Regions from separate parts of the Homo sapiens genome. Here regions 2, 3, 4, 5 and 6 are each linked to region 1. The links are contacts of gene promoters, found by promoter capture Hi-C in blood cells and fetal thymus (Javierre and others, 2016). All regions are on one chromosome and are shown on one strand. The core of a region is centred on a gene start or on the middle of the fragment in contact, and the rest is flanking DNA. Distances in the headings are between cores, read along the strand shown. Region 1 holds the start of NSUN3 (NOP2/Sun RNA methyltransferase 3). Region 2 holds the start of PCCB (propionyl-CoA carboxylase subunit beta). Region 3 holds the start of BFSP2-AS1 (BFSP2 antisense RNA 1). Region 4 holds the start of TIMMDC1 (translocase of inner mitochondrial membrane domain containing 1). Region 5 has its middle 2.5 kb from the start of TMEM39A. Region 6 holds the start of B4GALT4 (beta-1,4-galactosyltransferase 4).

Region 1 (4,717 bases), core at 2,202-4,701:
AATATATCTTAAATCACAATTTCTTACCACATGCAATCCTTTGGTTCAAACTACCATCATCCCTCACTTGAACCTAGAATTGGTTTTCCTGCTTCTGTACTTTTTTAAATTATAAAATATTTCAAATAAACCATGTGTGGCTTTATACTTTTTACTAAAAGAATGAAGATCTGCCAAGTGCAGTGGCTGATGCCTGTAATCCCAGCACCCCTGAAGGCCGAGGCAGGAGGATCACCTGAGGTCAGGAGTTCGAGACTAGCCTGACCAACATGGAATGTCCCCACCAAAAATACAAAATTAGCCTGGCGTGGTGGCACGCGCCTGTAGTCCCAGCCACCCAGGAGCCTGAGGCAGGAGAATTGCTTGAACCTGGGAAGGCTGAAGTTGCCGTGAGCCAAGGTTGTTCCATTGCACTCCGCCTGGGCAACAAGAGTGAAATTCTGTCTTAAAAAGAAAAAAAAAAAAAAGTATGAAGAGTTTACATACTTAAACATGGAATTGCTTTAAGTGTTTGGCATTCACCGTTCCCGTACATTACAGCAGCTTCTTTCAGCAAACACCTGGAACTTGCTATTGAGTAGGTGGAGTACGTTCTGCCCACACACAGGACAGGGAGCTGACAACCAAGGAGTGGGGGTTAAATACTCTAGCTTTCTCCCCTCCGTTTCCCTGTATCTCAGCAGTATGGAGCTCGTTACCATTGAGAACCTCCTCACTGATTTTGAACTGGTTTTTACCTTCTCAGTTCCATTTCTCCATACTTCGATTGATGACTTCTGGTATGACCTAGCAAATAAACTGCTTTCACTTAAATTTCAGTCTTGGAATCTGCTTTGGGTTCCCCAATCTAAGACAGAAATATATTCATTTTCCCATCACTGGACTTCCAGGTTGTTTTCAGTTTTTCACTGTTACAAAAAAGGCTGCAACATTTGTCTACAAACCTCTGGATATACATGTACGAAGCTTTTGGTATTTCCTACTAGTGAAACTGCTCAGCTGAAGGGTATGTGCATCTTCATCTTTAATAAATACTACCAACATTAGAAAAGCCTGACAATGTCAAGGAGTGGCAAGAGTGCCACATGTGATGGGTGTGGAATGGCAGCTCACTGTAGCAGGTGCTGGGGACTCAGTCGGGGTCTTGGAGAGACAGTTATAGCAAGAATGTTTCATAAATGGTATCTGATATAGCCAAGATTAGTGAGGAATAAAAACACGTTGCTTAGAAATAATTATCCATAGATCTGAAGTCAACAAAAGTCCCTTTTCTAATGTAAAAATGCATACTTTTCTCAGAGGGAGGGGGAACAACTTAAACCAGAAAACACCTTCATATTAATCATCCTTCTCACATACTTCAAATTTGTACTTGATGTGTTTCCCCTCCTGGACATCAGAGAGAACACCTGGGTATTCAGGCAGAAGTTTATATTTCTCCAAGTCAATTTCTGAAAAAAACGTGTCACTTTCAAAGTCCTGCATGATCCTTGTCACAAATAGTTTAAGATGGCCTAGGTGATTCATGGCTTCCTTATAAACAGAACTGCCACCAACTATCCAAATCATGTCTACTTTATTTGCTAATTCTGGTCGTTCAGTAAGTTTTAAGGCATCATCCAAACTTCTGGCAAGAAAATGAGCTCCTTGTGGAGGTTCCTTGAGTTCTCTGCTGAGAACTAAATTAATTCTATCCTTTAAAGGTCGATTCTTCTCAGGAATGGAGAACCAGGTCTTCCTACCCATAATCACCAGATTCTGTTTACCCTCTACTGAAGAAGTTGTGGTCATTCTCTGGAAATACCTGAATTCATTCCTGAGCGGCGGCCTGGGCAGGTCCCCGTTCTTGCCGATGCCCATGTTTTGGGACACAGCGACGATGCAGTTTAGCAAAAGAAACATGACAGCAGCGGTTAACACCTCCGAACTTGCTGGCTACGCCAGGAAGCCAGGCCAAGAATGCCGCGAAATTCCCTTCTTCAAATTTTTTTACGTGCCTACATTGCAAATACAATACCACTGTATTAATTAATTGCAACATTCTGGAATGAACATAGAAAAATAAATTATATAAAATATATTTATAAAGTATAAATTTATAAAATATTTATAAAATATAAATTTATAAAATTATAAAAAATACAGAGGCTGAAAGGTTAGACCGACTTTTCCACAAACATTAAACAGACGGCATCCAAGAGATGGCATCATTTCATTCCTGATTATCATAGTCTTTTGTACCAAATCTAAATTCTAATAAGATGCATTTTTTAGGTGACTTGGAAACTTGTTTAAATAAATAAATATATTAAGCTTCAAATCAGATTAGAAGGAAAGACATGTTTTTACATGAATATAAGACTTGTACCTATAGCATGTACGTATATTGATATGAGCATCAAGGAACAACTCAAAATGATGATTATTAACTATCAGGGACCATATCAAACCGGTTTTTTCTAATTGCTGATTGCTGCTACAAATGATAGTTACTGAAGCATGACACCAAAAGAGCAAATAAACTTCTATTCGTGTCAAAATAGGTGTAATAAACATCTTCCTTGGAGAACCATTAAACATTGCTCCCTTGTAAAGGTGAATTGGGGAGGCTAGAGTGGAGGGTCCTTTTGGTCTTCACGCATTTGGTATCAACGCGACAAAAATCACAATGATCACAATAGTGAAAATAATAGCAGCTAACATTTGGGCATTTACTGTTTCCTAATCACTGTTGTAACCGCTTTACATGCCTACTTCAGTTTAACACTCTCCATTAAAAGGAGAGATTATCCCCATGGGCCAGGTCTGGGGAAAAGCATGACTTAATTTCTTTTTCATTATATTCCACCCTTTTATCCTTGGGTACTGAATGTCTAGGTTAACAGGGGTCACTAGATTTGGTAGATTAAGTCAGTAACTAGCTTCGCTTTGAGAATATTTTAAATCAGTCATCATACAACATAACCCCAAAACTCATTCCTTTATTGAGCCCCATGCATATACACACTGTTCAGCACAATATGCGACTTTTTATTTATTTTTGAGACAAAGCCTCGCTCTGTCGCCCACGCTGCAGTGCAGTGGCGCGATCACGGGTCACTGCAACCTCAAACTTCTGCCCAAGCGATCCTCCCACCTCAGCATCCGCAGAAGCAGGGGCCGCACAGGCGCGCAGATGTGTGACTTTCTAAGGTCCGGCCGCCCAAAGCTACGCCGACCAATCCAAGTAGCGAAAGTCGCTTTGGCCCTGGCCCGTTACCTCCGCGTCCTGGGAAGTATCAGCCTTTACCAGCTACCGGAAGTAACTGCGCACGAAATCTCCCGCGGGAGCTAAGCCTCTTCGACAAGAATTCTATAGCGCGAGCAAATCAGTATCTCGCGAGAAATTGAAGAGGAAACGTGAGAATGAAAGTGGATGCCCGCGAATCCCGGAAGTCAGACTGTTTTTTTCAGTTCCCTGGAGGCTTTTTGATACTGATTCGCGTACACCTGTTGTTTGAAAGCTCTCAGCGGGACAATGCTGACCCAGGTGAGACCTGGGGCCCGGCTGGGTACCTCTATCTGAATGAGACGCTTCTGGACGCGGCCGAGGTGGCGAGGGAGGGTGCTGGGATGGGGGAACATCACCTTTGTTCGTCCCCTCGCGAGATCAGCGTTTCTTTGGCTTTACTGTCAAGCCCTGAAATAATGCTGAGTGCTGTAATGCTGAGTCCCTTCCGTCCAGCTCGCAGACTTCTAGTACCCACTCCCTCCAGCTCTTGGAGGGCTGAGATTTGTTTTCTGTGTCACAGCGGTATCCCGGGAGCTTAGAACAGTGTCTGTTACATAGTAGGCATTGAATACACGTTTCTTGGATGAATAAATGAAACAATTGCAAGGAAGTTCACGATGAAATTGGAGTGACTTTTCTCCCTAAATTAACTTTTCACTTTAAAATAACGTTGCAAAGATAGTACAGAGTTCTCAAATACCTTTCACCAATTTTTCTTGATGTCAGCATCCCCGGTGACTTTTTAGTTTTGTTTAGATACAAGTTCTTGCTCTGTCACCCAATCTGGAATGCAGCTGCTCCATCATAGCTCACTGTAACCTTGAACTCCTGGGTTCAAGCGATCCTCCAGCCTCAGCCTCCCTAGTAGCTAGGACTACAGGAGCAGGCCACTACGCCTGGCTAATTTTTTTTTTTTTTTTACTTTTTGTAGAGACACGTCCTTGATATGTTTTCCAGTCTGGTCTTGAACTGGGAAATGATCCTCTCGCCTCGTCCCTGCAAAGCATGAGCCAGCTGGAGTACAGTGGCGCGATCTCGGCTCACTGCAACCTCCACCTCCTGAGTTCAAGCGATTCTCCCACCTCAGCCCCCTGAGTAGGTGGGGTTACAGGCGCCCACCACTACTCTCGGCTAATTTTTGTATTTTTAGTAGAGACGGGTTTCCCGTGTTGGCCAACCTGGTCTTGAACTCCAGACCTCATGTGATCCTCCCGCCTCTGCCTCCCACAGTGCTGGGATTACAGGTGTGAGCCACCTGCCTAGCCCCTACAGTGACTTTTTAAAATTAATTTTGTTCCTTTTGACAGTTTCTTCAGCCCCAGTAGATTCTGTTTTAACCTTTGCTTCACATTTGGAAAATAATTATTTGGAAAAACCTTGCTTTTTCATAATTAGATAATGTACAGTTTTGGTACATGTAAGGTATTGCTTCCATTTCAAGAACTA
Region 2 (4,717 bases), core at 1,220-3,719, about 42 Mb after region 1:
TCTGAGGATCAGGATAGACTGCATGGAGGAGATGATACCTGAGCAGGTTTCAGAGCCTGAAAAGACATAGAGGAGGGGGCGAAAACCTCTGGACTCACATGCAATTGCCTATTTGCTAGCTCGATTCAATTTCACAAATACATTCTAAAGGCCTTCTCTGCGTTGGGCCTTGTTCCAGGTGCTGGGACCACAGTGGTGAGCAAATCAGCTGCAGTCCCTGACCTTTGGCTGGAGAGTCTGTCTAGGAAGACAGCTAAACAATCTTAACACAGTGTGAGATGTGCTTTATGTAAGGAACCTACAAGGCACTGTGGGACAAGGGAGTCCAACTGCCCCCAGGCCAAAAGCAAGTCCCAATTTCTGAACATGAAAAAACTCTTCACAATCTAATGCCATTCTCACTTTCCAGTCTCATTTACCACCATTTCCCCAAAAGCTGGGAACACAACAAAGTATGTGTGTGTGTCTGTGTATGTGAATCTGAACATGCCAGGCCTTTGCTCACACTGCTTCTGTTCCCTGGCATATGGATGCTTTCTTGGAGAAACTCTCCTCAACACACTCAGCCTTACTCAAATTCTCTCTTGTGCTCCCAAGGCAATCTGCCTCTCTAGGTTGTCCATCTGCCTCTCTAGGTTGGTAAAGTCTTTAAAGCAAGGACCCAAATGCAAGGTCAAGAGTACCCATTACGGAGTTATACAGATACAGGTGGGCTTTGCCTAGCCAAGAGGCTTTGGCCTCTAAGCTGCCCTCTCTATCTAGATGAACTGTTACTACTCCAGGAAATGCAATCAGTACTGATGTTTAGTTCTTGGCACATGGTAGGTGCTCAAAAATGTTTTCTGAGTTGAATTGCATTAACATTAAGGTCATAGGTCAGAATTTGTACTTTATGAAGGCCCTGGCTATGAGCTGGATCTGGGAAGGGCTCATGATCAACTTTAGCAGTTTTCTGTGGCTAAAAATGAGAAATATAAACCATGTTCTTTGTCTTGAAGACCTGCCTGTTAGTGGGAGAAACAGATGGTCAAGCTCTCAACAGTACAATTCCAAATTCCTAGAGCAGTGGTTCTTAAACTTTAGCAAGCAGATCAGAATCACCTAAAGGTCATCTGCTAAAACAGATGGCTGGCCCCAGCCCCAGAGTTTCTGATTTAAAGGTCTGGAGTAAGTTCTGAGAATTCGAGCTTGCATTTCCAACTCACTCCCAGGTGATACTGAAGTTGCTGGATTGACAAGATTCCCTCCTTGATCAAACATTGGTCAGGCTCTTCTGAGCTCTCTCTTTGACTAGGCCTGAGTGTGGGCTCCCATGTCATTCCTTGTGGAATTCCATTTTAGCAAGAAACTTGCCAAGTCAGTTTAGCCAGAATCCTCCATTCTTGATATCTGATTACTCTCCATATCTGGTTTTGACCCATACCGCCACCATCCCCCAGGTGATGTTCAGTTACCCTGACCTGCCTTGGGCAGGAATCCTGTTAGGTCAATTTAGCCAGATTCCCCGCCAATGTTTCCTCTTAGTAATTTTCCATCCACTGACTTCCACACACTGCCCCTTAGCTATAAATTACCACTTTGCTATATTCAGCCCAATCGCTCTGACTTATGGCAAAACTCTATCCCTACCTCTGTCAGATTGGGCCTGAATAAAGTTTGCCTTACCATTCTTAAACATGAATAATTAAGTGTCATGAATAGTTTTTTCTTTAATGGGATCCATACTTTGAGAACTACTGATTAGAGGTTAAGGGTCCTGTGCTCATTATCTGGCACATATTAATGATAGGTCTCTGAGTTTGAATCCTGGCCAACCACATTGTCAGTCTTGGCTTTTTTTTTTTTTTTTTTTTGAGACAGGGTTTTGCCCAGGCTGGAGTGCAGTGATGCAATCACGGCTCACTGCAGCCTCGACTTCCTGGGCCAAGCCATCCTGCCGCCTTAGCCTCCCGAGTAGCTGGGGTCACAGGTGCAAGCCGCCATGCCCAGCTAATTTTTAATTTTTTTGTAGAGGTGGGGTCTTACTATATTGCTCAGGCTGGTCTTGGGCTCCTGGGCTCACCTACCTCGGCCTCAGTCTTGCCTCTTGATCAAATCACTCATCTCTCTGTGCTTGATTTACCTCATCTGTGAAATCCAGATAGTAAGCTAGTGCATGGTAAGTGCAAAAAGCAACACCTGGCACAATGCTTAATAAATGTTGGTTAAATCTTATAATCATTTTCTGTAGGAAGTGGGACGACAAAGTTAAGGGTCTAGGTGGTCAGAGAAGAGCAAGGACTATGTCCCTTTTTTGTGCAGCCAGGCAGGCCCTGTACTTTTTCTCTGCGCGACCCTCCTCGGGCAGCACCGGGTCTCGAACTCTCACGCCTTACTCCCAAGCAGGTTCTGTAGTCCAGCCCCCGCGGCTCCCTACAGCCAGCCGATGCTGCGCAAGCGCCGTACCCACGCTTTAGCACATGCGTACTCAGGTGCGCCGGTAGGGGACGCGCCGGCACAGCAAAAATGGCGGCGGCATTACGGGTGGCGGCGGTCGGGGCAAGGCTCAGCGTTCTGGCGAGCGGTCTCCGCGCCGCGGTCCGCAGCCTTTGCAGCCAGGCCACCTCTGTTAACGAACGCATCGAAAACAAGCGCCGGACCGCGCTGCTGGGAGGGGGCCAACGCCGTATTGACGCGCAGCACAAGCGAGTGAGTCCTGAGGGGCCTAAGTGAGTCCCGCCCCTGGCGTCCGCGACCTATCACTGCGTGCCCGGCTTGCGGCGTCCGAGGCCTCCCTGCCAATCCGCACGGTGCCTGGAGGGGCCGGAGCAAGGGTGTTCACCTTGAAAACCTGTAGCGTTTCTCGTGGAGGCGGGTATAACCAGCAGAAGCACCTGTGTGCTTTTTCATACTGTTTAACCCTTGGGATTTAGACGGATCTGGCTCGTCTCTAGCCAGCTCAACACTTAACATAAGCTTTTGGGCAACTTATTAAATCTCTGTGGGTCATTTTAATAATAATTCTTCCTTCACAAGTGTATCGTTAGACCATAGATAGCAAAATGATAGGCGCTCAGTAAAAACCATGTGCTTATTCTCGTGCCCCATGAAAGAGTGATGGTAGGTTCTTTCTCCTTTGTGGAAGCAGGAAAACTGAACTTGGGCATACTCCACTAACATGAAATGGGGGATGTGCGCGTGCAGGAACTTGTGGAACTTCTGCCCGCAGAATGCCTGGTCGAGCTCTTTAGGGCCTTAGCATGCCTCGCCTTGATGGGTAGCAAAGGCACGTGTCGGAAGCAGGTGGCCTTTCTGGGAGTGCGCAGGCTACTCTCGATGTTTGGCTGGACTGAGCAGTTGAAACACTGCCACCCACCGCCTGGGTTTTGAGGCGAGAATCCAGCTGGCCTTCAGAGATAAGCTGGGCGGCCCATTTTGGAGAGGTGATCCCTGACTTGAAACCAGGCTTGCCCAGTGTGTCCGTGACTGGTGGGTGAGTCTGGACCGTTGTGCTGAACGAATTAACCAACGGGAAGGTGCAGAAGTGAAACTCTTACAGATGAAGAGTATTCAGGCACAACTCACAACCATGAGGGAGGCACTGGGGGAGGGATGGGGTCTTAAAGTGAGGAGATTTGAACAGCTCTATATTTGTCTAATATTGATTCAGATGTCATAAATTCGCATTTGACAAGGGTCCAAAGGTAACAGTTCCTTTTGACACTTGAGAGTGAAATGTAAATTTAGTGATGGTTTGTGGTGCTAGGAGTGCTTTCTCTCCCCTGGGGCTACTTCTAACCTACTCTGTTAGGGCTGAGGGAGATGTTAGATCATCCTCTGGAAAGGCCTGTCAGTGCTCCTGTACACTCTTTCTGTTGGGGCCTATTGCTCAATTCTTCCCTGGAACATCGCCTAGCCCTTTCCCAGGTAGATCCTACTAGGTTTAGATGAAGCCTCCAGAAGCTGTTTTTCTTTTGCCAAAGTTAACTTAGGAGGCTGATTTAATATGAACCCCCTCCTGCACCCCTTTTTATTTTTATGTTTTGATACGGAGTTTTGCTCTTGTTGCCCAGGCTGGAGTGCCATGGTGCGATCTTGGCTCATTGCAACCTCTGCCTCCCAGGTTCAAGCTATTCTCCTGCCTCAGCCTCCCAAGTAGCTGGGATTACAGGTGCCCACGACCATGCCTGGCAACTTTTTTTTTGTATTTTTAGCAGAGACAGGGTTTCACCATGTTGGCCAGGCCGGTCTTGTACGCCTGACCTCAAGTGATTCACCCACCTTGGCGTCCCAAAGTGTTGGGATTATGGGTGTGAGCCACTGCACCCGGCCCTGCACCCCTTTTAAAACAATTTTTGACCATTTCCGTAGATTTTCCCAGAAGAGGAATTAGTGGGTCAAAGGGTGTAAGTTTATTTATTTTTTTTGAGACAGAGTTCACTCTGTTGCCCAGGCTAGAGTGCAGCAGCTCACTGCAACTTCTGCTTCCCAGCTTCAAGCAATTCTCCTGCCTCAGCCTCCAGAGTACCTGGGGTTACAGGTATGTGTCACCACATCTGGCTAATTTTTGTATTTTTAGTAGAGATGGAGTTTCACCATGTTGGCCAGGCTGGTCTTGAACTCCTGACCTCAGGTGATCCACCCGCGTCTGCCTCCCAAAGTGCTGGGATGACAGAATTTTTTTTTTTTTTTCCTTGAGACAGGGTCTTACTCTGTCACCCAGGCTGGAGGGCAGTGG
Region 3 (4,717 bases), core at 1,593-4,092, about 39 Mb after region 1:
TCCAGGAAGAATGAGGTATGCGGGCAAGTGGAGGGTGAGCAAGGCAAAATGGTGTTTTACTGAGCCACAGAACAGCTCAGAGGAGACCCACAGTGGGTAGCTCTTCTCTGAAGGCAGGTCATCCTGATGAGAGTCCAGCTCTCAGCAGAGAGGAGACCCACAGTGGGTAGCTCCTCTCCGCAGGCAGATCATCTTGATGTCTGCCGAAGTCTGGCTGAGTCCAGGGTTTTTATGGTCTTCAAAGGGGAGGAATGATCAGCAATGCACGCTGATTGGCCTATGGGCGGCCATGGGTGGGGAGAGGCTGGGCAGCAGAAGCAGGCATTTCCAAGCCTGTGAGGGCTTCCCTGGCCCCCAAGACTGCAGGAATGCCCGAGTCTGCAGCCACAGCTGGGCAGCCTCACTTTGCTCCACAATCATAGTGGGTGCCAGGAGCAGAGAGAGGCCAGGCAGCAGGAGCAGGCATTCCCAAGCCTATGGGGCCATGGGGGACTTCCTGGCCCCCGAGAGTGCAGGAATGCCTAGGTCTGCAGGGCAGCTGGGCAGTTGCAGCTGCACCTGGGAGGGTGGGGCTCCTGTCTCTCCAACCAGGAATGAGTCCTGGCTTCCTCCTGTTCCCAGCTTCCACCGGCTCCTGCCAGCTTCCACCGGCTCTTGCCAGCTTCCTGGAGTACACAGCCCTGGTGTGCCTCCCCTACTGCAGCCAGCGTCTTTGCAGCAGCTGCTCCAGATAAGCTGCCACTGCCATCACTTGGAAGGTTGAGGTGGGAGAGATTGCTTGAGCCCAGGAAGTGGGGACTGTAGGGAGCCATGATCATGCCATTACACTCCAGCCTGGGTGACAGATCGAGATCCTGTTTTTAAAAATATAAATAAGGCCAGACACGGTGGCTCACGCCTGTAATCCCAGCACTTTGGGAGGTCGAGACTGGTGGATCACAAGGTCAGGAGTTCGAGAACAGCCTGGCCAACATGGTAAAACCCCGTCTCTACTTAAAATCTAAAAATTAGCCAGGTGTAGTGGCAGGCGCCTGTCATCCCAGCTACACAGGAGGCTGAGGCAGGAGAATTGCTTGAACCCTGGAGGTGGAGGTTGCAGTGAGCTGAGACTGCACCACTGCACTCCAGCCTGGGGAACAGAGCAAGACTCTGTCTCAAAAATAATAATAATAAAAAATAAATAATAAATAAAAGTGAGCATCCTTCCTGATTTTTAAGAAACTCCCTGTCAGTAATTGTTAGGGGGCTAATCTTCTCAGGTTACAAGACAGACCTCTAGGGGGCAGTGTTGTCCAAACTCCACAGGCCAGCCTGCTGGTCTCAGGGGGACCCATCTTGAGTACCCTATTATGTACTATGTTCATGGAACCTAAGGCATCATTGATTAATAGAGATACCATTACTGGATGTGCCACTAAAAATGAAACTACTCCAGATAGAAGTCTATTAGACCCCAGATAAAGCTGAGACACTAAAGGCCTCTGTGGAGGGGGTCCATGAGAAATATACAGAAAAAAGAGAAAGAAAGGGACATGCATAGTAGGACAGCAAGAGAAGTTGCATGTTTCAATTTTGCCATGGATGGAGGAAGTAAAATCTGCCCGTATAATTTGAATCAAAAGTTGGTTCTCATGCAGTTTTCTGGTACTACTTGTGCCATCAAAAAAACCTCAGAGAATTTAATGTACAAATGCACCTCAACTTATGATGATGTTATGTCCTGATAAACCATCATAAGGTGACTATATCATAAGTCAACTTTATCCAGTTGTAAGTTGAGAAGCACACTGAATGCATATTGTTTTCACACTATCACAAAGTTGGAAAATCATAAGCTGAAACATCGTAAAGTTAGGGACCACCTGTAGTTTCACATTATTATGAGTTCCTTGGCAAGGGTAGAACCCAAAGCTTATATAATTTGATGCCCTCTTTTAAAAAAGAAATACAAAATATCTTACTCTTGCAAATTTTATAAAAACCTATGATGAGGCTGAGTGTGGTGGTTCACATCTGTGATCCCAGCGCTTTGGGAGGCTGAGACAGGCAGATCACTTGAGGCCAGGAATTTGAGACCATCCTGGCCAACATGGCAAAACTGCATCTCTCTACTAAAAATACAAAGAAAATTAGCTGGGTGTGGTGGCACGTGCCTCAGCTACTCTGGAGTCTGAAGCATGGGAATCACTTCAACTTGGGAGGCAGAGTTTGCAGTGAGCTGAGATAGCAACACTGCACTCCAACCTGGGCAACAGATTGAGACTGTCTCAGAAAAAAAATATGTAATTTGATCCCATGAAGCTGTGAGGTGGAACCCTTTCAGGACCTTGGAAGGGCCATGCAAATGAGGTGTCCTGAAGCTTTACTCTCATTGGTAACTCAGCCTGTGCCCCAAGTGACAGGCAGAAGCAAAGAAAAATCCTCTACAAATGAACACAATTTTAATCGAAACAACAGCAATCACAACATACCATCAACTATTATCATATCCTGACTTCAGAGATGTTAAAGTACACAACAGTATGCTTCTTAGGAGCAATGAAATATGATATTTCAAAAAGAAAAAAGATAATGTAAATTTTGACCCTGACTTGGCTAAGACAATAACACATGACAACAACAATGATGATAGCTATCATTTATCAAGCTCCTACAGTGTGCCAGCCTTCTCACAAACTTTTTTTCTGCTCCTCACATGAGCTTAATGCCACCACCAAAGACTTGAAAGATACAAGGTAGTGATTCCTACCAAATCCACAATTAACTCACTTGTTTGATCAGTGTACAAATCAAGTAGGTCATAGAAAATGACCACAGATCATCACGGACTAATCCAGTGGTGAGGTGAATCACAACCAGAATTGCAGAGACGGTATTTTTACTGGAGCAAATCCACACAGTCCCTGGCACCTGGGCCACTATTGACCTGGCAAATGCTTTATCCTGCCCACCCCCACCTTAATCCTCTTCTGCCCTGTTGTGGCAGGGACAGCAGTATACTTTTACTGTCCTGCCTCCGGGCTATGTCGGCTTGCCTGCACTTAGTCAGAATGCAATCTGGAGGGACCCAGAAGCCCAAGCTGATCCATTACATATCTTTATCATGCTAATTGGACCTGGAGAGCCCCAAAGAGCTAGCACCTAAATGCCTTAGTAAAGTACCTGCAATGCCAGAAAATGGGAGATAAAGCCTGACAATATTCAGGAGTCTGCCACATGCGTGAAGCCTCTAGAGTCCAGTGGTCTGGGCTTTGTTGGGATAGACCTTCTAACATGAGATTCAAGTTGTACTTTACACCAGAAAGAGCCATGAAGAAAAAGATATGAAGCTTAATTTTCAGAAGTAACACAAACCAGATTTGAGTATCTGTTGCTGTGAACCACTAACTCAAGTAACCCTTAAGGGTACAAGGTTTTTGGCTTTTGTTTTTGAATTTTTATTTTAACATAATTTCAGGCTTACAGAGCAGTTGAAAGAATAGTTGAAGAATTGCCATATACCCTTCACTCAGATTTCACAAATATTAACATTTTCATAGGCAGACAGAAGCAAATTATTTTTAAGTTGAAGTAGTTAAGTTTCTTTTATACTTATTTAGTTCTAGGAATTTTGACTGATAGACATTGACTGGTGGGGGAGGTGGAGGTTGCTGGCTGACCAAGGTGATCTGTGGTGGTTGGTGGCATGTTGGTGGCTAAAGCAGGCAATGTGCAGTGTGGTAAGGATGTGTCATAGTGACCACCTGGATGAGCCAGCAGGGCCAGGTATAATGAAACATTGCCATGGAGTTTCTTCCCCCAGATACAGTGTGGCCCAGGTGGATGCCACGGTGCCACCCTCTGGTGCTGAGGAGCCCACACTGTGCGGAGCCTGCCCTGCCTATGCACCGGTGCCGATGACCCAGCCAGGCCTGATTTAGCCCCACCAGGCAGGCAGCAATGGCCCCTCTCAAGCATGGAGCTCCCTCCCTGAGACAGGAAGCTATTGGAGAACTGGGCTTTGAAGCCATCAACTCACAGCTAACTGTAGAGAGCAAAGATACCCACATTATCAGCAGGATTGAGAGCTACTCACGTAAGATAGCAGGAGACGACAAACACTGTTCTGACAGGAGGGCGGCCCACATACTGAAGGCTCTCTCCCCATCCCAGACCTCAGGCCTCAGCCCCAGCAGCCTGAGCAAGAACCAAGGTGGCAAGGACAAGGGCCCCCCTCAGGGACAAGTGCAATTGCAAGACCCTCTTCCACTTGATTGTCATGCTCAGCGAGTCCTTTCAGGCCTGACTATGACCTCAGCACAGCCCGCAGCCATGGGTTCAGCCGGAAGCCCAGCCTCAGGTGGGTGGTGAATGCAGTCAACCGCAGTCTGTTCTCAGCTGCGTGGGGGGACATCAAGGTCCTAGAACACAGCTGTGGAACACAGTGGATGAGGAGATCCACCTGGCTTAATGAGACACCCACAGCTATAACCCAGACATGGACCCAGATGCCTTCAGAGAAGAAGATACCCTCTGGTCCTTCAACTACTTCTTCTACAACAAAGGGCTCAAGCAAATTGTTTTCTTCAGCCACCGCTCCATTAGCAGCTCCACCTGCACACCCTCAGAGGCAGGCAACGAGATGGACCTGGAACTGGGGGAAGAGGAGGAAGAGAAAGGAAGCAGAGGTGGAGGCAGTGAGGGTGGGGCCGAAGAGACCAGACCAAGGAGGACAGGT
Region 4 (4,717 bases), core at 651-3,150, about 25 Mb after region 1:
TTAGGAGGCAGAGGTTGCAGTGAGCCGAGGTCTTGCCACTGCCCTCCAGCCTGGGTGACGAAGCTAAGACTGTATCAAAAATAAAATAAAATAAGCAGACTACAGAGGAGGGTGAGCATTTCCCTTGTTCTAAAAGAAGGTAAGCCGTAAGGGATTGGGGAAGTAGGAAATGTGGGAGGGCTCAGATGGAAGAGCAGCAACAGTGCGAGCAGTAGCCAAAGGAGAGGGGAGTTTTTTGAGTTATCAGGTGGCAAAAGGAACATTACAAATGAGTCTTCCGTTACCCAAATGAGAAACAAGTTATGGAATTTAAAATTTGCCTGTTAATATTACCTCATCTACAGGCTAGTGAATCCTGGGGCATTTGAGTTGTACATAAGTGATTGTGTCAGTATCTTCCCAACACCCACCCAAACCCTCCTACCCATTTCAAGTCCTCCTTCACCCCAGAATAATTCTGGGGTCATCTTATGCATTTAGCTTTTTCTACATATAGGTTAGAAACAGACTGTACAGCCATTTTCTTGGGCTTTCAGGCCTTGGTAACTTATCTTGGTGCCCACTTCTACCTAACATGGGATAAGCAGTAATCCAGAGCCAGAAGTCAGGAGATCTGAATTATTCAACAAATATTTACTGAGCACCTACTGCGGTTCTAGGTCCTGGAGATACAGAGATGAATATATTTGGTCTGTGATCTCAAGGATAGTTTATTGAGACAGATTAATAGGAAATTATGATGCAGTGTTGTAAGTGCTACGATGAGTGCTGAATCAAATCTCATATCCCAGAGTAGTCTTCATGGCGCTGTCACTAATTGAGCTGGTCACTCTAGTCAGTCACTTCTCAGGGACTTATGTGTAGCATTTCCAGCTATCAAATTCCTAAGTCCACTTACTGTATTCTACTACAGTGTGGCAGTTTTGATTGACAACTAGAAAGGAATCAAGGAGGTGAAGGGATTGGCAAAATGAATAAGGGAGTATGCTTGTTAACAAGGATTGAATGAAATTACACGAATATTGAGAATATTTTAAATGCATTCATTTTAATGAAAACTGTACTTCGAAGCATATGTTAGCAGAGGTTGTAGTGACGGCAAATTATACAAACACTTGATAGAAATTCCAGAAATTCTCCTGCCTTTTGAGAAGCAGTAGGCATATGAACTAAAGGGAGTGAAATCCACCTTAGGAAGACCTGCCAAAAAGCTGATTCTTCAAAAAAGTGTTCTCGAAATCTTAGTGTAACTGGCACCAACACCCATCCCCAATGCCTCGTTTTTTTTCCAGCAGAACTGACAAGGTACAAACGGACCCCGCCCAGCCTGGAAGGCTTCTCTAATGTTGGCAGAGTAGGTTGGACTTGTTTTTGCACAAATCGCCTTTCCCTCTTTCCCTACTCCACTTGCACTGAATATTGCACTTTCTTCCTTACTGAAGCGGGATTCCTGCCTTTTTTTTTTTTTTTTGAGACAGATTTTCGCTCTTGTTGCCCAGGCTGCAGTGCAGTGGTGTGATCTCGGCTCACTGCAACCTCCGCCTCCCGGGTTCAAGCGATTCTCCTACCTCAGCCTCCCGAGTAGCTAGGATTACAGGCGCCCGCCACCATGCCCGGCTAATTCCTGGCATTTTAAATACGATAAATTACTTCAACCTATGACCACCTCAAGCTGAATATAAGTAGCCGCAGACACCGTTTGCATGACCCAGGAACCACAAACACGGAGCGAAGGCCTGCCGGGACCACGCTGAGCTTCACTACTGGCAGCCAACTCACTTCCGGGGGTGCACTCAGCACAGCAGTGGCCCAACCCGCCCTCAACCGGAAGTCTTTTGGGCTCCGGCTTCGCCGTCGCCCCGCCCCCTGGCCTTTGCCCCGGTCGGGCGGGACTTCCTGTGTCGTATTTCCAAGGACTCCAAAGCGAGGCCGGGGACTGAAGGTGTGGGTGTCGAGCCCTCTGGCAGAGGGTTAACCTGGGTCAAATGCACGGATTCTCACCTCGTACAGTTACGCTCTCCCGCGGCACGTCCGCGAGGACTTGAAGTCCTGAGCGCTCAAGTTTGTCCGTAGGTCGAGAGAAGGCCATGGAGGTGCCGCCACCGGCACCGCGGAGCTTTCTCTGTAGAGCATTGTGCCTATTTCCCCGAGTCTTTGCTGCCGAAGCTGTGACTGCCGATTCGGAAGTCCTTGAGGAGCGTCAGAAGCGGCTTCCCTACGTCCCAGAGCCCTATTACCCGGAATCTGGATGGGACCGCCTCCGGGAGCTGTTTGGCAAAGAGTAAAAGTGCCTAGGGTGTGAAGTGGGGTAGGGGGCCGCGAAAGCGGTGTCCTGCAGCGTGGGCAGCCTGGGTCAGCCTTAGGACACCAAGGATGGTGTGCTTCATTTTTAGATTATATTTGAGGTTCTGATATTTGTAACCCAAGCTTGTATCTTTTTTCTTTCTTTTTTTTTTTTTTTTTTCCAGACAGGGTCTTGCTCTGTCGCCCAGGCTGGAGTGCTGTGGTGCTATCTCGGCTCACTGCAACCTCTGCCTCTGGGACTCAAGTGATCCTCCCACCTCAGCCTCCCGATTAATTGGGACTACAGGCGCGCACCACCACGCCCGGCTAATTTTTTTTTAATGTATTTTTTATAGACAGGGTTCTTACCATGTTGCCTAGGCTGGTCTTGAACTCTTGGACTTAGGCGATCCGCCTACCTCGGCCTCCCAAAGTGCTGGGATTACAGGCGTGAGCCACCGCGCCAGCCCAAACTCGTATTTTTCTTTCTTTTTTTTTTTTTTTTCGAGACTGAGTCGCGCTCTATCGCCCAGGCTGGAGTGCAGTGGTGCGATCTTGGCTCACTGCACTCTTCACTTCCCAGGTTCAAGCGGTTCTCCTGCCTCAGCCTCCAGAGTAGCTGGGATTACAGTTGCCCACTACCATGCCCAGCTAATTTTTGTATTTTTAGTAGAGACAGGATTTCACCATTCGCCAGGCTGGTCTGGAACTCCTGACCTCACGTGATCTGCCTGTTTCCGCCTCCCAAAGTGCTGGGATTACAGGCCTGAGCCACCGCGGCTGGACTGCGCCCGGCCTAGAAGGGCAATTATTTTATAGTAACTTAATACTTAAGACAGCTATTTGTTAGAGCAGTCTCAGGATGACATCTTGGAAGCTTCATTAGCAGTTCTAGCTTCTTATGCATTTGAGAGTAACAAATCGAATTAAATAGTAGTTTTTCCTTGTTATTTTAGATTGGCATGTGCCACCCACTGCATAGTGAACTTTCCCAGTGCGTTTTTAAAAAAACATTTATTTGTTTATTTTTAGAGCCAGGATCTTTGCTATGTTGCTATGCTGGATTTGAACTCGGGCTCAAGTCCTACCTCAGCCTCCTAAGTTAGCTGTGACTACAGGCGTGTGCTACTGTGCCCAGCCCAGTGCTTTTATTAGTACAGTCCTATCTGAGTATTTCATGAAATTATTTAGTAAAATAGAATTTAGATTTTTTGTCTTACATCCACGTTTTTATTCTTTCATACATTGCCCTAAAATCTCACGAGTTGGTGTGATTTCTAAAAGTTAACTTAAGATTTAAACGGAAATATTGGTCTCTCTATCCAACTCACAAATTCTTCCTATTTCTAGGGGTGTAATAGTCATCAAAAGCACCTTTTAAAAAACTTTTTATTGGAGTAGGAAATGCATTTCGAAAAATGTGCCTAAGTATACTGATGGATGAATTTTCACAAACTGAACATAGCTGTACCCAGCACTAAGAAAGAAATGGCAACTATTGTAACATCCCAAAAGCTCCCCTTGTGCCTTTTCCGGTCATTGTCTTTTCAGGAGTTGCCACTATCCTAATTCTAACACCATAGCTTCGTTTTGTCTGAGACTACGTTCCTTTTAATATAACTGAACTGTTTAATTCATCTGAGAATTCTACCTATGATGAAAAATGTTGTGGTGGTAGCATTTGGGTTAATTCTGATTATAGAGTCTCTTGGAGAGCAATGTCCATAAACTAATCCCAAACAACATTGTCTTTTTGATGTTGTAGTGAACAGCAGAGAATTTCAAAGGACCTTGCTAATATCTGTAAGACGGCAGCTACAGCAGGCATCATTGGCTGGGTGTATGGGGGAATACCAGCTTTTATTCATGCTAAACAACAATACATTGAGCAGAGCCAGGCAGAAATTTATCATAACCGGTTTGATGCTGTGGTATGTACTGGTGATCTAAAGAAATTTGGGGCACACTGACTTAGTAATTCACTTTACACTTAATCATTCAATTAGGTTGTGGGGATGGAGGGTTGTTTTAAGGTGTCAGAGTAAAGAAATAAAGTCTGTACTTAATAACAGTGGAAGTACTAATGTTAAAGTGCCTGCATGTTGTTTGAGAGACTACTTTGTTATCTTCAGAACAGGCATGTTTGGCATCACCACTGTGGCTTTTCTTTCTCAAATACATTTCTTCCAATCCCCTGCTAAATCGTCAAGGCTCAGCTGTAACATATTTACCTCATTCACAAAGCCTCCATGAGTATAGGAGCTCACACTAAAGCAATAGTTAACATTTATAACTTTATAGAGTGCTAACTCGTTTGTTACATCATTAGATCTGTACATCAGTTCTTTTGTGAGAATATTAAAGCTCAGAGAATTTTTAACTTTTTATTTTGAAATTATAGCAGGCTTGAAAGTTGCAAAACTAGTACAAAGAT
Region 5 (4,717 bases), core at 1-2,500, about 25 Mb after region 1:
TTAACTCGCGGTCCCGCCCCTTCCGGCCAGTGTTGGCCAAAGCATTTCCTCTTTCGGCCTCAGTCAGCTAGCGGCTGCTAGGTGCGGGCACCATGCTACTGATCCTTCTTGCTGTCTCTTGGACTCCATGTAGTAACCATGTACAAGTTATCACCGCCATTTTACAGATGAGTGTAGATTAGGAGGTGTCACCTAGGGTCACGTTACTGCTAAGTGAGGGAGCCCAAGTCATGAAGTCATGCGTCAGCATCCAACCCTGCGCTTATTGTTTGCTAAGAACTAGACAGATGCTGTGGTTACAAAGCGAATACCACAAAAGCTCAGAGTCTAGTGGAAGAGAGGCGACACTAAGAAAATACAGTAATTACCATTTGTTACAATATTAAAAGTGTGTCCAAGGTCCAGAGATAGCATGTAACACTAACGAATTCTGTGGGATGGTGGTGATGTCAATACCAAGAAAAGCTTTGCAGAGAGCTTGGGGTTTCAGCCAAGACTCCACAAAGGCATAGGGGCTTTGTGGGAGAATGGCAGTCCTCCTGGAGAAGTGGCAGATAAAAAGGTAAAGATCTGTGAGCAACGTCATCTTGAGTTCAGGAATTGACAATAGTTTGGTATTAGAAGAAGATAAGAGTGTCAAAAGGAGCATTTGTGTAATCTTTCACTCCAGAGATTTTAATCTCCTTAATAGAAAGTTGTTTGTATTGATTGAATGATTAACCTTTATTAAGAATTTTGTTGTGTCAGGCACTGGATTAGTAGCTTTACACATTTCATTTAAATCTCACATTTTGATAGCTTCTACTATGGTTATTATTTTACAGAAGAAACTGAAGTTAAGAGAAGTTAAGTAGCTTGTTGAAAATAGCCTGCCTGGCCAGGCAGGGTGGCTCATGACTGTAATTCCAACACTGGGAGGCCAAGGCAGGAGGATCACTTGAGCCCAAGAGTTTGAGACCACCCTGAGCAATATAGTGGAACCTTGTCTCTATGAAAAAAGTAAAAAAATAAATCGGGCATGGTGGCTCACACCTGTAGTCCCAGCTACTTGGGAGGCTGAGGTGGGAGGATCACTTGAGCCCTGGAGGTCAAGTTTGCAGTGAGCCGAGATTGTGCCACTGCACTCCAGCCTGGGCAACAGAGAGAGACCCTGTCTCAAAAATAATAATAATAATAATAGAAAAAAAAGAAAATAGCCTGGCTAATAAGAGCCAGAACCAGAATTTAGAGCCAGAATGACTGATATCGAAACCAGTAAAGTTGCTAATATTCCCAAATATTCCTAATGTCCTAATGTACCACAGAGCTGTCACTTAGGAATACACACAAGTCTCCAACTTAGGATGGTTTGACTCACAATTTTTCAACTTTATGATGGTGCAAAACCAACACTCATTCAGTAGAAACTGTACTTCCAGTACTCGTACAACCATTCTGGTTTTTTTTTCATTTTTAAATACAGTCATGTGTCCCATAATGATGTTTCAATGAAAGACCACATAAATGATGGTGAGCCCATGAGAGTATAATAAAACTGAAAAACTCCTATTGCCTAATGATGTAGCTGTCTTTATGTTGTAGTGCAATGTATCCTGGTGTACACAAACCTGCACTACCAGTTGTATAAAAGTATAGCACATACAATTATGTACAGTATAACATACTAAATAATGATAATAAATTACTTTGTTACTGGTTTATATATTTACTATACTATACATTTATTGTTATTTTAGATTGTACTCCTTCTACTTATTTTAAAAAAATGAAAGTTAACTGTAAAACAACCTCAGGCAGGTCTTTCAGAAGGTATTCCAGAAGAAGGCATTGTTATCCTAGGAGATGGCAGTTCCATGTGTGTTCTTGACCCTGAAGATCTTCCAGAGGGACAAGATGTGGAGGTGAAAGATGGTGATATTGATGATCCTGACCCTGCATAGGCCTGACCCAAACACACACGTGTGTGTTTGCATATTAGTTTTCAATAAAATAGTTTAAAAAGTAAAAAACAAAATAAAACATTTTAGAAATAGAAAAAAGCTTATAGAATAAAGATAGAAATAAAGAAAATAGGTCGGATGCAGTGGCTCATGCCTATAATCCCCACACTTTGGGAGGCCAGGAGTTTGACAGCAGCCTGGCCAACATGGCGAAACCCTGTCTCTACTAAAAATACAAAAATTAGCCAGGTGTTATGGTGTACACCTGTAATGCCAGCTACTCAGGAGGCTGAGGCACGAGAATTGCTTGAACCTGGGAGGCAGAGGTTGCAGTCAGCTGAGATAGCACCACTGCACTCTAGCCTGGGCAACAAAGCGAGACTGTCTCAAAAAAAAAAAAAGAAAAGAAAAGAAAGGAGGGAGGGAGGGAGGAAGGAAGGAAAAGAAAGAAAGAAAAAATATTTTTGTATGGCTGTACAATGTGCTTGTGTTTTAAGCTAAGTGTTATTACAAAGTCAAAAAGTTGAAAAAAAAAGGTTTGTACAGTAAAAAAGTTACAATAAGCTAATTTATTACTGAAGAAAGAAAAACGTGTTTATAAGTTTAGTATGGTCTAACTGTACAGTGTTTATAAAATCTATAGTAGCGTAATGTTCTAGGTGTTCACATTTACTCACCACTCACTGACTTATCCAGAGCAACTTTCAGTCCTGCAAGCTCCATTCATGGTAAGTGCCTTATACAGGTGTATCATTTTTACTCATTTACTGTACCTTTTCAATGTTTAGATACACCAATACTTACCATTGTGTTACAATTGCCTGTAATATTCAGTACAGTAACATGCTGAATAGGTTTGTAGCCTAGGAGCAATAGGCTATGCCAAATATCCTCAGTATGTAGTAGGCTATACTAGCTAGGTTTGTGTAAGTATAATCTATGATGTTCACACAACAAAATTGCCTGACACATTTCTCAAAACATATTCCCATTGTCAAACAACACATGACTGTACTGCACACCTTCCTGGAAGTAGAAAAATTTTTGACTAAAGTTTCATTTGGATTCCAGAAGAAATATGCTATAGTTTTGGATATACATTTTTTTTCCTGTCTGTTCACCCAAAGTGAGCCTCACTCATACAAAAACTGGGTGGTTCTGCCCTGGTGGAATATAGACCAAATGCCCATATGGGTGTAATATGTGACCGATACGGCCCATTCCTAGGTAATCAACATTATTTTCTCTTCCACCATTCCTTAACGTGCATCCTAAAGCCTCCACTACTGTCAAGCTAAATTTGATCCCCACCTTCTGCAAATTATGGCTCCCATATTTTTAGTGACTCCAGCACAATATTCCTTAACTGTAACGTTTCCTTTTCTTCAGTACAAAATATACCCCTCCTACCCCTTTCTCCAGATTTCCACTTCATATTGATCTTTTCCTCCACTGAAACCAGTGGCACTTAACTATTGCCTTAAATTGTAAACTATCTCTAAGGAAGCATATTTGTCTTCCCTACTAGTTCTAAACTCCTGGGAGCACAGATTTGATCTTGTACTTCCCTGTATTTCCATATTTCCACAAGGCTTAGGGATATAACCATGTACATTTTAGAAAATAGATAAATATTGCTGGGCGCAGTGGCTCACGCCTGCAATCCCAGCACTTTGGGAGGTCGAGGCTGGTGGATCACCGGAGGTCGGGAGTTCGAGACCAGCCTGACAAATATGGAGAAACCCCATCTCTACTAAAAATACAAAATTAGCCGGGTGTGGTGGCGCAAGCCTGTAATCCACCTACTCAGGAGGCTGAGGCAGGAGAATTGCTTGAACCCAGGAGGCGGAGGTTGTGGTGAGCCGATATTGAACCATTGCACTCCAGCCTGGGCAACAAGAGCGAAACTCCATCTCAAAAAAAAAAAAAAAAAAGAAAATAGATAAATATTTGTAGTTCTATGATTACTAAATATATCTACACTGACCTATATATACCTGTATAAAGATATATACCTGTACTATACTATATACCTATATTGTCCAGTATCATGTTGCCCACTGTCAAGAAACAAAATTTCATCAAATTTAGTTTAAAGTTCTTGGCCAGGCATGGTGGCTCACGCCTGTAATCCCAGCACTTTGGGAGGCCGAGGTGGGCAGATCACCTGAGGTCAGGAGTTTGAGACCAACCTGGCCAACACGGTGAAACCCTGTCTTTACTAAAAATACAAAAATTACCCGGGCATGGTGACACACTCCTGTAATCCCAGCTACTCGGGAGACTGAGACAGAAGAATTGCTTGAACCCGGGAGGCAGACGTCATAGTGAGCCAAGATTGTGCCACTGCACTCCAGGCTGGGCAACAGAGTTAGACTGTCCTCTGTCTCAAAAAAAAAAAAAAATCGAATTGGCTTTTATTAGTGATTCATGAATCAGGCAGCATCTCATCTATAAAACAGAAAAGTGTTCTAATGAGCTGAGCAGAAGGGGTTGGGCTTATAGGCAGAAAAGGGCTGAAGAAAGCAGAAATAAGGAACAAAAAGCAGATTGGTCATTTTGAAGTTACTTTCCTCAAAGAGTTACATCAGAGGGGACTTCTTTATCATGCCAGCTCAGGTATATGGGCCCCTTCTCCTATTTGTTGGAAAACTGACCCCTTTTAAAGCTGAGTTTAATTACGCAGCACCTAGGACAAGTTGCCTCCATTCTGGTTTTGTCTGCTCTCTTGAGGCCTAGTGCCAGAGTTCTGTCCAAAACAACGACCTCCCATAAAC
Region 6 (4,717 bases), core at 1-2,500, about 25 Mb after region 1:
TCTATCCACTTCCCCTTAGATTATGTAGTCAAACAGTTCAATCCAGGTCAGTACTTTTTCACAACGTATGTTTTCAATCTGATCAAAGCTATAGGTAGACGAAAGTTATTGCAATTTCATGGGGTTTACAATTTCCATAAAGAACAAACCTGCTCTAGAAGACAAAATTCCAAAAACTTCTGAACTATATCCAATCAAGCATTATCTCCTCTCCCAAGAGAGACCTTCCAGCACTCCCCGCCTGGGTCTCGGGAATAGCCCTCCCTTCTGAATCCCAGTTTCTCAATCCGGACCCTGAATCCTATTCATCCTGATCTCTCCTTGATTTTCTTGCATCTTAAAGGTGTTATTTTCCTTTCTTTAAAAATTTAAAAAAAAAAAAAAAAGCCACAACTCGCCTCCACGCTCAGATTACCATTTTCTTTTTCCTCCTTTTCATCACCAAACGGCTGAGGAGGTCTACCAGTACCCTCACCACCGCCACGTCCCCATCCCTCACCCACTCTGGAACACTTTGCAACAGTGTGCACACCCACCCACTGTTGATAACTACTCTCCTAAGGCTACCAACCCATAGGCCTCTCCTCGATGCAGAGTCCTTTGGACTTTGTCTGTTTTTTTTCAAACCAAGAATTAACAGCCCTTATCTAATGGAAGACAGAACATCAAGGGATACAGATCAACAAACACTGGATGGCTGTCTCCGAAGTCTTTTATAATCCAGGTGACCAACCCCTTTGGAGAAAGGTCAAAGGTCGCCGGCCCCTCGCAGGACTGGGGCTGGTGTCAGCTGATCAGTTTCCCCGTTGAAACGCTGGAGAAGGAGGGTTTCCAGGAAGAAGGGGCTTTTTCAGGTTGATGCACCCGGCGGAGAAGTGCTGGGGGCGACCCCGGAATCGTGACCTGGGGTATGAATGAGCCCTGGATTTTTTCCTACCCGGCAGCACCTCGTCTGGCTCCCCCGGCCCGCAGCAGAGGCGGCGCCGCGCGGAACGCCAGCACCTGAGCCGGTGCCTCCCGCCAGGCTCGGCCTCCGTAGGCCCCCGGCCCGGCCCACCGCTCCGGCTGAGGCGGGACTGCCCCACGGACGCCGCCACGTCATCCCCACGCCCGCCCCGCTACAGCCCTGGGACTGACCCCGGCCGTCGCCCGGCTACCCTCGCACGGCGCCCGTGTCCAGGGAACTGCATTTCCCGGGCGCCGGCGGAGCCAGCGTACTCACCCCGGAGGCGGCCGCGGCGAGCTAGCACTGCCCGCGGAGAGGGGAGAACGCGGAAAGCAGCTCGGGGACCGCCCCAGCCGCCCGGGAGGCGGCTCTTGAGTACGAGCTCCGCCTCCCGCCTTGGCCGGAGAGGCTGGTCCGCCCGGCTCTGCACGCGCCTGGCGCTCCACCCCCGCCAAATCGACCACACCGGGCGCTGGAAGGAGCACCGGGAGGGAAACGGAGGGTTGACGCCTCGGCCTCTGGGTGGCTTTAAAACCCTGTGCCAATAGTAGACTGGGTGCTGAGCGCTTCCCAAATTCCATCCCCTTAAATACTCACAAAGCAGTAGGAAAGAGATAGGGACCCTTCCATTTTACAGAGTGGGAAACTGAGACTTTAGAGAGGCTAATAAACTTAATCACCCTGCGAGATTTCAGCCCTCTCAACTGCAAAAATGATAATAATAATAATAATATTTTTCCCATGTTGCAGGTCTGAGAATATTAAATGATTTTTTTAAATCCGTATTTCTTCAAAGATATTATTACAGAAAGCAAAGACAATTATATTTACACTAAAGATTTGAGTGAAAAATTATGGTAGGCTCTGTTTAGGCAGTCAGGATAGCTAGATTCTCTAATGCAGTCTCCCACTGCACTCACGGGAAAGTAGTAGATTCTCCAAGAACCACACATCCACTCCACCCAAAAAGGAACAAACCATAGCTAGAGCCAGTGCTGGGCTCATTAAGCTTCATAGCAGGAAATCTGAGGCTATACTGAGGCCGCATAGGCCCAATGTAGGCCCTTGGAAGCTGGAAAAGAGGGCCACCTAGTGGCAGTTGAGGATAGGTCAGTGAAATAGGTCAACACTGCTCCTGAACAAGGTCCAGTGTGAAACTTATTTTTTTGTGTTCCCTTTGTAACATGCTGTAAGGGTGTATAACCACATTTAGTGAAAAAGGACATTACTGGATTTCATCCAGTGGCGTTATACAATCAGTTACTTATACCCACATAGTCCCCAGGTCTTGAGCATATGATGCCTGGAAGCATAATATATACCTTTTGCAAGAATCACTCAGCTTTTCCCCTCCCCCTCCCCCTCTCTGTCTCCCTCCCCATCTCCCTCCCCCCTTTGCACGGTCCTCGTCTCCCCTTTGCATGGTCTCCCTCTGATGCCGAGCCGAGGCTGGACTGTACTGCCGCCATCTCGGCTCACGGCAGCCTCCCTGCCTGATTCCCCTGCCTCAGCCTGCCGAGTGCCTGGGATTGCAGGCGCGCACCGCCACACCTGACTGGTTTTCGTATTTTTTGGTGGAGACGGGGTTTCGCCGAGTTGGCCGGGCTGGTCTCCAGCTCCTGACCGCGAGTGGTCTGCCAGCCTCGGCCTCCCGAGGTGCCGGGATTGCAGACGGAGTCTCGCTCACTCAGTGCTCAATGTTGCCCAGGCTGGAGTGCAGTGGCTTGATCTCGGATCGCTACAACCTCCACCTCCCAGCCGCCTGCCTTGGCCTCCCAAAGTGCCGAGATTGCAGCCTCTGCCCTGCTGCCACGCCGTATAGGAAGTGAGGAGCGTCTCTGCCTGGCCGCCCATCATCTGGGATGTGGGGAGCCCCTCTGCCCAGCCGCCCAGTCTGGAAAGTGAGGAGCGCTTCTTCCCGGCCGCCACCCCGTCTAGGAAGTGAGGAGCGTCTCTGCCTGGCCGCCCATCATCTGGGATGTGGGGAGCGCCTCTGCCCCACCACCCCGTCTGAGAGGTGAAGAATGCCTCTGCCCGGCGGCGACCCGTCTAGGAACTGAGGAGTGTCTCTGCCCCGCCGCCACCCCGTCTGGGAGGTGAGGAGCGTCTCTGACTGGCCGCCCTGTCTGAGAAGTGAGGAGCCCCTCCGCCGGGCAGCTGCCTGGTCCGGGAGGTGGGGGGCAGCCGCCCAGCCAGCCGCCCCGCCCGGGAGGTGGGGGGGCAGCCCCCGCCTGGCCAGCCGCCCCGCCCGGCAAGTGGGGGGCAGCCCCCGCCCGGCCAGCCGCCCCGTCCGGGAGGTGGGGGGCGCCTCTGCCCAGCCGCCGCCCCGTCTGGGAGGTGGGGGCCCCTCTGCCCGGCCGCCGCCCCGTCTGGGAGGTGGGGGGCCCCTCTGCCCGGCAGCCCCGTCTGGGAAGTGAGGAGCCCCTCTGCCCGGCCACCACCCTGTCTGGGAGGTGTACCCAACAGCTCATTGAGAACGGGCCATGATGACGATGGCGGTTTTGTCCAATAGAAAAGGGGGAAATGTGGGGAAAAGAAAGAGAGATCAGATTGTTATTGTGTCTGTGTAGAAAGAAGTTGACATAGGAGACTCCATTTTGTTCTGTACTAGGAAAAATTCTTCTGCCTTGGGATGCTGTTAATCTATAACCTTACCCCCAACCCCCTGCTCTCTGAAACATGTGCTGTGTCCACTAAGGGTTAAATGGATTAAGGGCAGTGCAAGATGTGCTTTGTTAAACAGATGCTTGAAGGCAGCGTGCTCGCTAAGAGTCATCACCACTCCCTAATCTCAACTACCCAGGGACACAAACACTGCGGAAGGCGGCAGGGCCCTCTGCCTAGGAAAACCAGAGACCTTTGTTCACATGTTTATCTGCTGACCTTCCCTCCACTATTGTCCTATGACCCTGCCAAATCCCCCTCTCCGAGAAACACCCAAGAATGATCAATAAATACTAAAAAAAAAATAAATTTAAAAAAAAAAAAGAGAATGTAGGCCAACAATAAGCCACAGGATAACATCTCTGTCTGCCCAAATCACATTATGCTGAGGAAGTTTAATAATAAAGGAGAATAATAAAGGAGCCAAGCAAGTTAATCTAAAAAAAAAAAAAAAAAAGAATCACTCAGCTTTTCTATATTTGGTAGCTGGTAGGTTATTAATTGGAGAAGTTGGGTTATTGCTTTCAGTAAGTGTAGGAAAGCAAGTAGCAGTGATATCTACAAAATTAAAGATAGCTTTCCAATCTGCTTTTGAGGTTTTAGGGTGGCTTTCATTTCACAGAGAGGCATTGGCATTAATAAAATTGTTTCCTAGGGGTTTTTTTTTTGGCATCAGTCCAGAAACCCAACAGTTGCTCTAGTTTTTCTTGTTAGAGCATGAGCCTTAGCTAAAGCCATCTATAAATTATGGTCCCATGGATTTCCCAGCAGGAAATATGGAAAAAATAGAAAAAAAGATAAGATAGTCATGATAGCAGAGAAGTCTTGATCCATGATCTTGAGAAAGCTGTCCATGTCTAGGATGCCATCTGCTTCTGGGGAGAAACTTCCCTACCTTAAGATCTCCAACAGGTGTATAATTCCAAGAGTTTGAAGGGGCTCTTTTGAGTTACAAGGTATGGACCAAAACTCGAGGCCCTGAAGTTTTACTGTGGGTGGTGAGAGAAGTACATGATATAATCTCTTCTAATGGGATACAAGAGCAGTTTTTCTCAGATGGGATGTTATTTCCAGAAGACTCAATCTCTGAGTTCTAGATTGTGAAAG

Evidence for each region. The method cuts DNA at HindIII sites, captures the fragments that hold promoters and counts their contacts. A CHiCAGO score of 5 or more calls a contact.
Region 2: a contact is called between the fragment with the promoter of PCCB here and the fragment with the promoter of NSUN3 in region 1, in 2 of 17 cell types (total CD4 T cells and total B cells). The highest score is 15.7, in total CD4 T cells.
Region 3: a contact is called between a fragment that was not itself captured here and the fragment with the promoter of NSUN3 in region 1, in 2 of 17 cell types (naive CD8 T cells and activated CD4 T cells). The highest score is 8.1, in naive CD8 T cells.
Region 4: the fragment with the promoter of TIMMDC1 here is called in contact with the fragment with the promoter of NSUN3 in region 1 in 3 of 17 cell types (naive CD8 T cells, non-activated CD4 T cells and total CD8 T cells); the score reaches 23.3 in naive CD8 T cells.
Region 5: a fragment that was not itself captured here is called in contact with the fragment with the promoter of NSUN3 in region 1 in 1 of 17 cell types (non-activated CD4 T cells); the score reaches 8.1 in non-activated CD4 T cells.
Region 6: the fragment with the promoter of B4GALT4 here is called in contact with the fragment with the promoter of NSUN3 in region 1 in 4 of 17 cell types (naive CD8 T cells, total B cells, total CD4 T cells and 1 more); the score reaches 7.6 in naive CD8 T cells.

What each region holds. Positions count from the first base shown.
Region 1 is chr3:94,059,610-94,064,326 of GRCh38, forward strand. NSUN3 (NOP2/Sun RNA methyltransferase 3) reads left to right here and starts at 3,452. Exons shown (of 6, transcript NM_022072.5): 1 at 3,452-3,529. The coding sequence starts at 3,518. DHFR2 (dihydrofolate reductase 2) reads right to left here and starts at 3,307. Exons shown (of 2, transcript NM_176815.5): 1 at 3,137-3,307; 2 at 1-1,997. The coding sequence starts at 1,902. The coding sequence ends at 1,339. RefSeq lists an enhancer at 3,346-3,585. The HindIII fragment of the contact is 2,538 bases long and covers 2,312-4,717 here.
Region 2 is chr3:136,247,871-136,252,587 of GRCh38, forward strand. It overlaps PCCB (propionyl-CoA carboxylase subunit beta), which reads left to right and starts at 2,470. Exons shown (of 15, transcript NM_000532.5): 1 at 2,470-2,688. The coding sequence starts at 2,506. RefSeq lists enhancers at 2,109-2,975, 2,205-2,264, 2,895-2,944. The HindIII fragment of the contact is 10,493 bases long and covers 1-2,953 here.
Region 3 is chr3:133,486,827-133,491,543 of GRCh38, forward strand. BFSP2-AS1 (BFSP2 antisense RNA 1) reads right to left here and starts at 4,283. Exons shown (of 4, transcript NR_189064.1): 1 at 4,076-4,283. It also overlaps the pseudogene MAF1P1. RefSeq lists enhancers at 553-1,053, 2,205-2,254, 2,275-2,404. The HindIII fragment of the contact is 969 bases long and covers 2,359-3,327 here.
Region 4 is chr3:119,496,647-119,501,363 of GRCh38, forward strand. It overlaps TIMMDC1 (translocase of inner mitochondrial membrane domain containing 1), which reads left to right and starts at 1,901. Exons shown (of 7, transcript NM_016589.4): 1 at 1,901-2,281; 2 at 4,049-4,214. The coding sequence starts at 2,088. RefSeq lists an enhancer at 1,641-1,690. The HindIII fragment of the contact is 2,873 bases long and covers 1-2,425 here.
Region 5 is chr3:119,463,752-119,468,468 of GRCh38, forward strand. No RefSeq gene overlaps it. Among named protein-coding and RNA genes, the nearest start is that of TMEM39A, 2.5 kb to the left of the region's middle. RefSeq lists enhancers at 1-24, 55-114. The HindIII fragment of the contact is 1,575 bases long and covers 464-2,038 here.
Region 6 is chr3:119,239,628-119,244,344 of GRCh38, forward strand. It overlaps B4GALT4 (beta-1,4-galactosyltransferase 4), which reads right to left and starts at 1,251. Exons shown (of 8, transcript NM_003778.4): 1 at 1,223-1,251. The region is part of intron 3 of B4GALT4-AS1 (B4GALT4 antisense RNA 1); the gene reads left to right. RefSeq lists silencers at 938-1,417, 2,068-2,117. The HindIII fragment of the contact is 11,429 bases long and covers 1-1,953 here.